Linked DNA regions of Homo sapiens: all the other regions are linked to region 2. Evidence: promoter capture Hi-C in 16 types of primary human blood cells and fetal thymus (Javierre and others, 2016). All regions are on one chromosome and are shown on one strand. Each heading gives the region's core, a stretch centred on a gene start or on the middle of the fragment in contact. The rest is flanking DNA. Distances are from core to core; before and after follow the strand shown. Region 1 overlaps SLCO5A1 (solute carrier organic anion transporter family member 5A1). Region 2 holds the start of SLCO5A1 (solute carrier organic anion transporter family member 5A1). Region 3 holds the start of PRDM14 (PR/SET domain 14). Region 4 overlaps SULF1 (sulfatase 1).

Region 1 (2,979 bases), core at 178-2,677, 150 kb before region 2:
AAGACTGCTGGCATATTTTAAAGGATGAACACTCACTCTCAAGAAAGGACTTCGCCACCAAGAGAACAGATCTCACCCTTTCAACATGGCGACACAGTGGAGTTCACCAATTATATAATGGGGAACAAACAACAGGAATTCTCAATTTATCATTGCAGTTTAAAACTCAGACATCAAAAACAATATCCCCAAAACATTCAGTGGATGGTATAATCCCTTATCACCTGCACAGAACAAGCACATGCATTTTAACCTTTTAGTGAAAGCAACTTCGTACAATCTGTTCTTCACAAAGAATCAAACTGGGCTCAATAAGTAACTGTGTAGAGGCCGGGCACAGTGGCTCACACCTGTAATCCCAGCACTTTGGAAGGCCAAGGCAGGCAGATCACCTGAGGTCGGGAGTTCGAAACCAGCCTGACCAACATGGAGAAACCCCGTCTCTACTAAAAATACAAAATTAGCCAGGCATGGTGGCACATGCCTATAATCCCAACTACTAGGGAGGCTGAGGCAGGAGAATCACTTCAACCTGGGAGGCGGAGGTTGAGGTGAGCCGAGATCATGCCATTGCACTCCAGCCTGGGCAACAAGAGCAAAACTCCATCTCAAAAAAAAGAAACAGTAGAATATGAAAACCTTCTCCCACAGTATTACAGCCCATTTATAATTTACAGGAAAGGGAATTCTCAAAATAGCCTATTCTTGAACTGTCAGAAATATCTTTACTTTGAAAGTTTTTTTTTAAGCCGGAACTGAACTGATATAGTCTATGAAAAATGGCCATCACCCATCTTCACAGACTCCAGTCAGGGGAGGTGCTTTCCTATACTTTTTTATCAGCACCAAATGTGGTCATCTTGACCTTCAAATCCATCACAAGGGCCCTGTCAGAGAAACAAATGGCAGGCCTAGAGCTCAACCTTATCAAGTTTCACTGACTTGGCGCAGAATATAAAGTAGGAGAAGGCTGATATGGAACAAAATCCCTGCACCCAAATGTTCCAGTCATCCCTGGAAAAAAAAATAATAGCAATGCATAATTTTCTTTCCTCTAGGTTTTCATCAGAGGTATTTTGTAGGTTACTTGGAGCCTCTTGAAAAGAAAGACTGAAGTCATTGTAGCTGCATAGGAATTTCATCACATCCTTGTCACAGGATGTTGGACTAACAGAAGAGGAACTTGTGAAATATACTCACCCCAGTGCTAAGATTACCACTATTAACACAGCCAGCCAGACAAGGGTTAAAGTATGTAATTCCATCTGATCCACAGACTGGCTCATACTCGTGTATTTTACAACCACAATTAACGTTGCAGCTTCCTGTCAGATTCCTATGGGGCATGGTGAGAGAAGGTCTAAGAGAGAAGAGAAGCAGATCATGAGCAACACTTACCAAAATAAAACTCATAGGAAAGGTCTTGAAATTAATAATTTGTCCATTTTAGAGAAAATATTCTTCCCATTGAATCAAAGCCATGATACCCAAAGTAGTCATCCTCAACAATTATTTTGTGACTTTAAAACAAAACATAAAGAAAAATGTTTCAACTTACTGGTATTACAGATTCAATGCTTTTTATCAAATTACTGCCCCACATCAATTTCACCCTCCCTCTTGGTGCTATGAACCTGGTCTCAACATCTGGGCTCTGCAATTCCAACCCTAATATAACTACTCACTTACTGTAGGCGCCAGGCTCTACATCTTAACAAATCTGTACCTCAATTTCTTTATAAAATGGAGAAAATACTTTTTAGTATTGAATCAATAACATCACTGTGAGCACATGATCACTGTTAAAATCCATCTATCCCAGTTATTAATATACGTTCCTTCGACCAAAAACTTGTATTCTAGAATAAATTATCAAAGAAAGGCATTGGGGCTCTAGACAATCAAAATGAAGTATTTTCAAAGATGATTAGGAATCACATTGCTAGTTTGATTTAAACAACCAGAGAATAAAGATTAAGCAGTTCTTCACTCAGGATTGCCCCGGTGTGGATCCACAATCAAATATGGTGGGTTTCTTTTCTTGAGATCATGGTGTCTGATACAAAGAAATGATACCATATGAAAGGCTTGAAGAAAATAAATTCAGGCAACAAATATAGAGGGAAGGAAAGGCAGGTAAGGATATAGGCCTGGGGAGAAGAGTGTAAACAAACAGCGGTGGAAGAGCAGAGGAGCACCTGGGGGATCCACAGGAAAAGGAAAGGCGCTCTGTACTGCTCGTACCCCATGACCGCTTTTGCTTTTGTGACCACCAGTTTTGTGTATCACTGATGAAATGTTGTTCCCAAGACTAGATGAGTTAGCAATAGCAGATCCTTCATCCAACCATCCATTTTTCCAGTATCTACCCATTTAACAAATATTTTGGAATGTCTGTTACGTACCAGGTCTTATCTTTTTTGAAATAGATTTAGAGGGGGTGAAAGAACAGTTTTGTCATGTGGATATATTGTGTAGTAGCGAAGTTTGGGCTTTTAGTGAACCCATCACCTGACTGATGTACATTGCACTCAATAGGTAATTTCTCGCCCCTCAACTCCCTCCCTCGCCACCAAGACTTATCTTTTTTTTTTTTTGAGAAGGAGTCTCACTCTGTCGCCCAGGCTGGAGTGCAGTGGCGTGATCTCCACTCACTGCACCCTCCACCTCCCAGGTTCAAGCAATTCGCCTGCCTCAGCCTCCCGAGTGGCTGGGATTACAGGCACCTGCCACCATGCCCGGCTAATTTTTGTATTTTCAGTAGAGATGGGGTTTCACCATGTTGGCCAGGCTGGTCTCGAACTCCTAACCTCGTGATCCACTCCCCCTTGGCCTCCCAAAGTGCTAGGATTACAAGCGTGAGCAACCATGCCTGGCCAAGACTTATCTTTAATGACTATGCTGGTACCACTTATACAGTAGCATAGCCCATCCCAATCATGCGTGTTAATTGGTGTTTGTTCAAAGGTTTTTCTCCTG
Region 2 (3,310 bases), core at 523-3,022:
CTGCGGCTTGGGGCTAGCGTCCCAGCGCCCCGGGGACCAGGGTTAGGTGACCCCGAACCGTCCCTAGAGGGACGGAGGAGCTAGTCAGGAGCGGAGCCCCGGAGGACTAGGCAGCAGCCGGCTGCAGTCTCCAGTCCCGGAACAATAAGCAGCAGGCGGTCGGCGGAGACTCTCCCTCATTGTCTGCCGCGGACCTGCCCCCGTCCCGCCCCTTCTGCCTTAAACATTGCGTTTGCTTTTATATGTTAATAATTATCAACCTGGCAGCTCTGACTCAGAGGCAGTGTCTTTTAATCGAGTGAACTAACTGCAGCCTTTCCGTACTCCTACTCCATTACTCAAAATAGAAAATGCCCAAAAGAACAAAGGAAACTTTTTCACAGACACACAATGTATTCCCTGTCCCAATTTTTCTAAAAGGAAAAAAGAAGGTGGGGGTAAACTACGTGTGTAGAAATGTGTGTGCACACTGGTGTGCGTTGGCACGTGTGCGCGACTAGATTTGAATCTGTCTGCTCCACCAGAGACACACATTCAAAGCCGAAGGCAGCAGCAAAAAGGTCAACATGCTTGCCTCTTTATTCCCAACACCAAAAATAACCCCCTGACCGAAAGAACTCTTCAATTACAAATACCAGGGGCATTCGAGGCTGTGGCCCGCACTAAGTCCCAGAGCGCGGTATCAAACGAAACCGAAAATCCGTCTGCTTTGCCGAGAGCTAGGGAAGCCACAACCAAACAAAGAGATCCCGGCACGCTGTCAGAGAGCGCGCGAGGAGCCCACGGAGCCGGCTGGGCGCACGCGGGCCGGCGGGGAGGTGTGCTATTGACTGAGCGCACCCCGCTAGCGTGGGCCTGGGGAGCGTGTGCGCGTGCGCGGCCACACACACACACACACACACACACACACACACACACACACACCGGCGTACTGGAACCTCTCTCGCGATCCCGCACCCAGCTTGAATTCAGCAAGAATCGAAAACAGGTGTGCCCCCGTGGTAAGACCCCGCCCCTAATCTTGGGGACCCCCACTCCACTCCTCCAGCCTGGGGCAAGGACGGGGGGCGGAATATGCACCAGGTGGGAGACAGCCGAGCTTCACTACACTGGGTTTCATTTTGCAGCGCGCCTTTGTGATGCTGCTGAGAAAAGAAAGGAGGAAGGGCAAGGGAGAAAGGCAGAGAGGCTGGGCGGCCAAGGGTGGCCGCTCCGGCATCTCCCTCGGCTGTGCTGGGCCAAACCCGCTCCCAGATTCCCGGCCTGCCAGCCACTCACAATCCCGGGCTTCCCCGCCGCTGCCTTACCCAGGCGCCTTCCCGGGGAACCCCACCAGCCGCTGCGTGAGGAGCCGGGGAATCCCAGCAAACTCTCGCCGCTCGCGGGGGGCGTCCGAACCCCCTGCTTAGGCGAGCGCCCTCACAGCATCGCAGACTCGGATGGACACGCGGATCCCGGCAGGGAGCTCTTGGAGCAGGCGTGGAATCCCAGGGACACCCCCTGCGCGCACATCACATACACGCACATCCTACACACACACACACACACACACACACACACACACACACACACACAGAGCCCGTGGGAAGACAAGACCGCCGGCGACAGCCCGCCGCGCTGCCCGGGCGCTCAAGCCGCCGCTACTCACTAGCGAGTCTGTCAGTCTGTCTGCCTGGCTGAGTAGAGCGGCGGGAGGGGGGCACTGAGCTACGGGAATAGTTGGGAGCCGCGTGAGGAGGCAGCCTCCGTCCAGCCGAAGAGAAATCAGTGAATGAGACTGTGACTCAGGCTGAACTCTTCCCCCCACCCCTCGCCTGTCACCCAAGCCTCTCCTCCGCTCCAAACAGACACACGCGCACAGAGACGCGCCCGGAGAGGAGCAGCCGAGGGCGCAGGCGCGAGGGCAGCCACCCAGCCCAGCCCTCCCACAGCCAGCCACCCCGCTGCCCTTCACCTGCGTGGCTGCGGGGGCCCAAGAGCGCTGAAGCCCCGAGGGAGCCGGTCTCTAGAAAAGTCAGCGGCTGAAGCTGACAGCCCACTCTGAATAAATAAATCATTTCTGATCGTTTATTCCGTGCCTTGGGCACACACCATGTCTCATTCACCATAGTAGATTCTGGGACCAAAGATAAACAAGACAAGATACTTGGTCGGAGGAAACCTCTGGCTTGTGGGGGAAATACTCATGTAAATGGCTTAAAACAACGTGGTACATCTATGCAGCCTGCTACTGGAGTAGCCAATATCCATTAGCCTTCATTTCCACGCAGCAGGAAGAACAGAGGCACGGGGGCATGGTGCTGCCAGTCAATAGGTAGATAAGCTTCCTAGAAGATTGCAGGGATGGGGCAGAGGACCAGACTGCAAGAGTGGCTGAGTAGAAAGGGGCACTACGGGTTTCCTAAGTTGTGTACTGTCAATAATGTGGGGGCAATGACGTTCTGACTTCCTCACCAGAGAGCTGGCTCTGGCAGTGACAGGTAGACAGATGTGAGGCCACACTGCGGGCACAGAAGTGAGTTGGGAGGCAGTCTGAAAGCAAAATGTGATGAGGCATTGGCAGGGGGCATGGAGAGGAGGGAACTGGGCAGCTGATGCAATCTGCAAGAGAAGAAAACCAGCCGAGGTAGGATGACTCCCAAGTTTCTAGCACCAAGTTGGGTGACTACGTGCCTGACAGCCAATAAAAGCACAGGTGGAGAAACATGCTTTAGGAGAAAGATTGTTCTCATCTACATGTGTTGAGTTTGAAATGTTTGGGGGACATCCCAGTGTACGTGTCCCATAAGCCACTGGACACACAGGAGGTTTGGACTAGGAATATTGATCAGTAGTCATCAGCCCAAAGGTGGCATGAGAAAGGATGGAATGAATAGGGAAGATCATCCAAATTGTGAAGAATCTAGGAGGACAGCGTACAGCCAAAGGAAGGAGACTGGAAGCAAGGGTCAGAGAGGTGTGGGACGCATCAGAAAAGCCAAAAGAGCAGACGACTGTAAGAAGGGAAGGGTCAGATGTGTACAGGCTGCAGGGAAGACAAACAGGATGATAACTGAAAAAAAAAAAAAAAAAGAGTATCTGAGGGCACTTGTGACCATTGACAGAGCAGGATAGTGCTCTAATGGAGGAAAGGAGGTTGCTCACAAGTACCAGTGACCATGCTGGCCATTGCTGCCAGGTCGAAGCCCCTCCACTGGCCCTTGGCCTTGCCCAATGAAAGCATTGTCTCCATTTTACAGATGTGATAAGTGTAGAGAGGTTAAGTAACTTTATATAGGCACACAGCTGCTCTGTAGACAATATGAACCAA
Region 3 (3,360 bases), core at 478-2,977, 240 kb after region 2:
CGGCACTTCCCTGGGGACGTGGGGAATTGGGTACCACGGTGGCAGCTTGCTGTACCAGGGCAGATCGTAGAGAGGCTCCCTCTGTAGGCCCAGACCCGGGCTCAGCAAGGGAGGCGCCATCCGGAAGGGGAAGGGGGGCATGGCGGGGGCAGCAGACGCTGCGGCCTCCAGCTGCCGGAAAGGTTGGAAGTCTTCCTCCACGGTGGCCAGGCTGTTTCTGTAGTGTCCATAGGACGGGAAAGGCGTGTAGTACGCGGCCAGGTTCTGCGGGCTGCTCTCCGGCGGGTAGCACACCTTGTCCTGAGGCACGGCCTCACTTGGCCGGGGTAGAGCCATCCCGGGACCGCACGCTCGGCGGCTCTGCAGAAAAGCGGGCGCCGCTGAGGACACCGCGCGGGAGCTTCCCGGGGTCCGACCCGCGCCTCCCCACCAGCCTCCTCCACCCCAGCCAGCCCCAGATCCAAGGGAACAGGATAAACGCCCCCAGTCCGATCCCGCCAGCCCGCTCCCACAATTAAGACAAAACGAAAAAACAGCAATAGAAGCAAACACAAAAAAGCCCCAAACGGAAATCTGCCGGGATCCTGCCCTACTCTAAATTCCGGGTTAGTGTTGCCTTCCCCTTCCCTCTCCAAGCACCCCTTCCCTAAGCCCGGCCGCCTTCCCACACCCGCTCTCCGCTTTCGGCCCCCAACCCGGTTCCTGCAAAACCCATTGAAGTTCCCTTTCCTTCCTTCTTCTCAGTCCTACAAAACTCGTTGGTAGGGTCTGTGGGAGCCGCGGGGCCCTGCCAACCTCGGGGCTGGGCCGGGAGCCGAGCGCAGGCGGTCGGAGGGCAATGGAGCAAGCGACAGCTCCAGGCGCTCCTGGGCCCTCGGCTGGGAGGGAAGAGCCGAGGACCCTGGGTCGCACCGCGCAGATGGAGACGCGCTCCCAGAGCCCCCGGGCAGGTCCAGGGACCCCGCGACCTGCTCTGGCCCAGCGGTGTGACCCCGCGGGTCCTGGCGGTCCTGACTGCCCGCAGGGGAGGGGCGCGCCACTTTTGGCTGCCCTAGGATGCGCCGCCTGAACCTCTTTTCCCTCGCGGGCAGCGTCCGCCACATTCCCCGGGTTCCTCGGAAACTCCAATCATTCTACCAGGACTATTGGGGCCTGGGGTAGCCCCTCGGGAGCCGCGTGGACGAGCCCTGGCCAGGTGGGAGCGAAGAGCCTCGGCGACTGCCAGTCCTCCCGCCCCCGCACCGCCGGGAAAGGATGGCGTTTTAATAGACAGGCAGCAAGTTCACCGAGGCTGAAGAATGAAGCCCCTTCAGGGCCGGCGGGTCTTGAGATCAATGAGCCCAATAAGAAAACCAAGCAGGGTCATGACTCAGAAATTAAAGAACACGGGGTCAGGAGAAGAGGTCAGCCACGACACAGGCAGCGGCCCGTCTCCTCCCGATCCTCCAAAGGCGCCCTTCTCCTAGCCTCCTCCGACCTCAGGGATCTGCAACTTGGGATTCAAAGCCCCCGAGAGGGCAGAACGACCATCCAAAACGAACTGCGCCAGCGAGTGCTGCCGCCCTCCCCAACGGCCCTGGAAGACCACCGCCCCGGGCCCCAGGCGCGTCCTGTCCCGTGCCTACCTCCGACACCACCTCCAAGAGCGCCACCGCGGAGCGGGCGCCTCCTGGACGCTGCGGGGCCACTCGGGCTCGGTAGGCCACTCGGGCTCGGTAGACTTCGGGCGGGCCCTGAGGGCTGAGCCAGGCTTAAGAGGGCGGGCGGGGCCGCGGGGCATCGACAGGTCGAGGGTAGGGAATTGACCCGGCCCACGCAGATCCCCGCGTCGTCTTCTCCCCGCCCACCGCAGCCATTGGCCGACTCTCGACTCGCCCTCTGTCCCCTGGGGTCGCTCACTTAACTCATCAGTTTTCCAAACCCTCCCTGGGACCCTAGTGGCGAGCACTCGCCGCTGGCCTTCTAGGGCAGGCAGTATTGCCGCTCCAGGCGTGCGGAGTCGGGGAGAAAAAAACCGAACACGTGTGCTACCCAGGGCCCCCAGATAAGCCCCTCCGCGCGCACACACACCCTGAACCGGAGTCCAGAAGGCCGGACTCGCGTCCCGGGGTCGAGCCCCTTACTCTCCGCTCCCAGTTCGGAAGATCCCAGCCTGCCCGAAGGCGGCGTCTGACCCGCTGGTGGACCTGGTGGGTGTCTGTTCCTGATACCTGGGGACGAGGCGGGAGCGCCTTGAGCGCTGGGAAGCTTCGCCTCGCGAGTCCCCGGCAGTGACACGTGGGAGCGTTGGGCCCGGCACCCCCGACGCTTCCGAGGTTTCGGGTGGTCGTTTTGCTCTCTCGGGGGCTTTTATTCCTTAAGTGGCTTTAAACGACCGAGGATGGGCCTCCCGCGCCGCCGCAGCTGTCACTTCCTTCGGGAAAGGCTAGCGACCTTGGACGCGCAGGCTCTGAAAACCAAGGTCCAGACCCATACCGAGCGCCCAAAGACCGCATTTGAATTCTCCTCGCCGGCCATTGAGGGAGAGAAAGGAACGCTTAGTTCCATTCACATTCACAGAAAGAAGCGCCGAGGGTGGGGGAAACGCAGTCTTGCCGGGTGAGCCGGGACAGGTTCCTCGCCTGCCCCCCGGCCGCTGCTTCCTCTTAGCTGAATGGGGAGCGACCCGCCCCGGGCGCGGCCTTCGGGGCTGAAGACTGAGGTGCAGCCTCACCCCCGGCCTGGCAGCGGCTTGGAAGAGAGAGGGAAAGGAGGAACATCTACCCGGCTAAGAGACGCCGCCAGAGTCCCTAAAGCTGGCGGGGGACGGAGGCCGGGGTCCCGGATCTTCAGAGCGCCCGCAGCCGGGCTTCTGGGCTCCTCGGTGCGGGGAACCTGACCCTGTAGCCTTCGCCAGGGCGCGGCGGGGCTGCAAGAAGGGAGGAAGGAGTGGGACTAGAGCCTTCGAGGGCGCGGGCGGCGTGCACTCAGCCTTGTCTCCCCGCGCGCCCTGCCGCCTGCTTGCCCCCTTTGCTGCACCGGGTGGCCCTGGTCCCCGCGCCCGCCCGCCCCCGACGCCTTCGCGTGGTTCCGCGCTGCCCGCGGCCAGCCCCGTTTCGCTTCGCAAGGAGCGTGTTGTTTTCTCAATCGAAATGGGATCAAGATCCCAGGGTTTCCTCGTCTCCTTGTTTTGAGGTGATAGGATCTTAGCCAATAGATCGAAAACGTGAAAAGTACCCGTCGCCTCTTGTCCCAAGTGCCTCTGTGGAAGGATCATTTACTTGGAAAAGCAGAATAAATTCTGTTGCCGTTTTCCTTCCGGAGGCGTGCTCACCCCAGAGCTCCTAGACCCACTGGCATTCGCTATACTTCCTCCTGGGC
Region 4 (3,041 bases), core at 78-2,577, 170 kb before region 2:
TTGGTTGTCTCTGCTGAGCACGCTGTGTCAATGGAGATGGCCTCTGCTGACTCAGATGAAGACCCAAGGCATAAGGTTGGGAAAACACCTCATTTGACCTTGCCAGCTGACCTTCAAACCCTGCATTTGAACCGACCAACATTAAGTCCAGAGAGTAAACTTGAATGGAATAACGACATTCCAGAAGTTAATCATTTGAATTCTGAACACTGGAGAAAAACCGAAAAATGGACGGGGCATGAAGAGACTAATCATCTGGAAACCGATTTCAGTGGCGATGGCATGACAGAGCTAGAGCTCGGGCCCAGCCCCAGGCTGCAGCCCATTCGCAGGCACCCGAAAGAACTTCCCCAGTATGGTGGTCCTGGAAAGGACATTTTTGAAGATCAACTATATCTTCCTGTGCATTCCGATGGAATTTCAGTTCATCAGATGTTCACCATGGCCACCGCAGAACACCGAAGTAATTCCAGCATAGCGGGGAAGATGTTGACCAAGGTGGAGAAGAATCACGAAAAGGAGAAGTCACAGCACCTAGAAGGCAGCGCCTCCTCTTCACTCTCCTCTGATTAGATGAAACTGTTACCTTACCCTAAACACAGTATTTCTTTTTAACTTTTTTATTTGTAAACTAATAAAGGTAATCACAGCCACCAACATTCCAAGCTACCCTGGGTACCTTTGTGCAGTAGAAGCTAGTGAGCATGTGAGCAAGCGGTGTGCACACGGAGACTCATCGTTATAATTTACTATCTGCCAAGAGTAGAAAGAAAGGCTGGGGATATTTGGGTTGGCTTGGTTTTGATTTTTTGCTTGTTTGTTTGTTTTGTACTAAAACAGTATTATCTTTTGAATATCGTAGGGACATAAGTATATACATGTTATCCAATCAAGATGGCTAGAATGGTGCCTTTCTGAGTGTCTAAAACTTGACACCCCTGGTAAATCTTTCAACACACTTCCACTGCCTGCGTAATGAAGTTTTGATTCATTTTTAACCACTGGAATTTTTCAATGCCGTCATTTTCAGTTAGATGATTTTGCACTTTGAGATTAAAATGCCATGTCTATTTGATTAGTCTTATTTTTTTATTTTTACAGGCTTATCAGTCTCACTGTTGGCTGTCATTGTGACAAAGTCAAATAAACCCCCAAGGACGACACACAGTATGGATCACATATTGTTTGACATTAAGCTTTTGCCAGAAAATGTTGCATGTGTTTTACCTCGACTTGCTAAAATCGATTAGCAGAAAGGCATGGCTAATAATGTTGGTGGTGAAAATAAATAAATAAGTAAACAAAATGAAGATTGCCTGCTCTCTCTGTGCCTAGCCTCAAAGCGTTCATCATACATCATACCTTTAAGATTGCTATATTTTGGGTTATTTTCTTGACAGGAGAAAAAGATCTAAAGATCTTTTATTTTCATCTTTTTTGGTTTTCTTGGCATGACTAAGAAGCTTAAATGTTGATAAAATATGACTAGTTTTGAATTTACACCAAGAACTTCTCAATAAAAGAAAATCATGAATGCTCCACAATTTCAACATACCACAAGAGAAGTTAATTTCTTAACATTGTGTTCTATGATTATTTGTAAGACCTTCACCAAGTTCTGATATCTTTTAAAGACATAGTTCAAAATTGCTTTTGAAAATCTGTATTCTTGAAAATATCCTTGTTGTGTATTAGGTTTTTAAATACCAGCTAAAGGATTACCTCACTGAGTCATCAGTACCCTCCTATTCAGCTCCCCAAGATGATGTGTTTTTGCTTACCCTAAGAGAGGTTTTCTTCTTATTTTTAGATAATTCAAGTGCTTAGATAAATTATGTTTTCTTTAAGTGTTTATGGTAAACTCTTTTAAAGAAAATTTAATATGTTATAGCTGAATCTTTTTGGTAACTTTAAATCTTTATCATAGACTCTGTACATATGTTCAAATTAGCTGCTTGCCTGATGTGTGTATCATCGGTGGGATGACAGAACAAACATATTTATGATCATGAATAATGTGCTTTGTAAAAAGATTTCAAGTTATTAGGAAGCATACTCTGTTTTTTAATCATGTATAATATTCCATGATACTTTTATAGAACAATTCTGGCTTCAGGAAAGTCTAGAAGCAATATTTCTTCAAATAAAAGGTGTTTAAACTTTTTTCTGTTTCAGAGAAATGAACTTAACCAAGTTTTTGTGGTACACCCATTTCTTGCAAGTAAAATTGAGTCATGATCTCTATTTACATGATTGAATACTAACCAAACTTATAAAATGGAGCTGAAGTCAATGTGTTATAGAACGTTCTCAGATTAACAACTTCACCACGGATTTACCTCATTGCTGTCTTGAGGGAGGCAGCAGAGGCAGCGCCAAGGTAGCTTTCCCGGCAGGCAACCTAGATGGTCACAAAGGGCCAGCACTTGGTTTAATGCTCTGATGTCACCGCCTTGAAATCCTTAATAATTTTTTAACAAGGGGCCCCACATTTTCATTTTCCACGGGGGCCCTGCAAATCAGGTCTGGGCAGAACCAAAAATGGTTCTGGGCAGTAAAATGGAATTTTTCAAAACCAAGAGAACAGACCCACTGAAGGCAGTGTCGGTTCTTCAGGAACCAGGAACTTGGGTGGAAACCTAAACACCCTTCAAGATCTCAAGTTTTTTGATACACAAATTCCATATGCTTCCTTCTGTCTGTTCCAAATCTCCTGAAGAAATTTAGCCTTCAGGTTGAGGGGCTAAAAATCTGTGAAATGTCCAGAGACCAGAAGGTTAAAAATAAATAAGAAGAAGAAAAAAAGAAAGCAAAGGGTCAGGGGACCTACCAATCCAACCCTTGGATAATTGAGGAAACCAAGTTTTCAAGAGAACATAGTCTAAGATAATAGCATTGTTGTCCAAAGGCGCATCTTGGTGCCTTGCTCCTTGTTCCTTTCTGTAAAATGTGCCTGAGTCAAATATTGCCATCCTGGAGAAAAATGCATCTTAGTTCCATTCAATAGCTGCATATGGAGTACCTACTATGTGGCAAGGACA

Evidence for each region. The method cuts DNA at HindIII sites, captures the fragments that hold promoters and counts their contacts. A CHiCAGO score of 5 or more calls a contact.
Region 1: a contact is called between a fragment that was not itself captured here and the fragment with the promoter of SLCO5A1 in region 2, in 1 of 17 cell types (neutrophils). The highest score is 5.1, in neutrophils.
Region 3: the fragment with the promoter of PRDM14 here is called in contact with the fragment with the promoter of SLCO5A1 in region 2 in 3 of 17 cell types (naive B cells, erythroblasts and total B cells); the score reaches 10.6 in naive B cells.
Region 4: a contact is called between a fragment that was not itself captured here and the fragment with the promoter of SLCO5A1 in region 2, in 5 of 17 cell types (neutrophils, naive B cells, total B cells and 2 more). The highest score is 14.1, in neutrophils.

Annotation. Positions count from the first base shown.
Region 1 is chr8:69,680,984-69,683,962 of GRCh38, forward strand. SLCO5A1 (solute carrier organic anion transporter family member 5A1) reads right to left here. Exons shown (of 10, transcript NM_030958.3): 7 at 1,201-1,360. Among named protein-coding and RNA genes, the nearest start is that of SLCO5A1-AS1, 150 kb to the right of the region's middle. The HindIII fragment of the contact is 5,118 bases long and covers 1-2,979 here.
Region 2 is chr8:69,833,206-69,836,515 of GRCh38, forward strand. SLCO5A1 (solute carrier organic anion transporter family member 5A1) reads right to left here and starts at 1,773. Exons shown (of 10, transcript NM_030958.3): 1 at 1,649-1,773. It overlaps SLCO5A1-AS1 (SLCO5A1 antisense RNA 1), which reads left to right and starts at 907. Exons shown (of 4, transcript NR_186568.1): 1 at 907-988. RefSeq lists enhancers at 29-98, 1,529-1,608 and a silencer at 1,929-2,038. The HindIII fragment of the contact is 8,160 bases long and covers 1-2,321 here.
Region 3 is chr8:70,069,525-70,072,884 of GRCh38, forward strand. It overlaps PRDM14 (PR/SET domain 14), which reads right to left and starts at 1,728. Exons shown (of 8, transcript NM_024504.4): 1 at 1,626-1,728; 2 at 1-360. The coding sequence starts at 336. RefSeq lists enhancers at 1,222-1,951, 1,952-2,681. The HindIII fragment of the contact is 12,104 bases long and covers 1-2,245 here.
Region 4 is chr8:69,658,750-69,661,790 of GRCh38, forward strand. It overlaps SULF1 (sulfatase 1), which reads left to right. Exons shown (of 23, transcript NM_001128205.2): 23 at 1-2,163. Among named protein-coding and RNA genes, the nearest start is that of SULF1, 170 kb to the left of the region's middle. The HindIII fragment of the contact is 267 bases long and covers 1,195-1,461 here.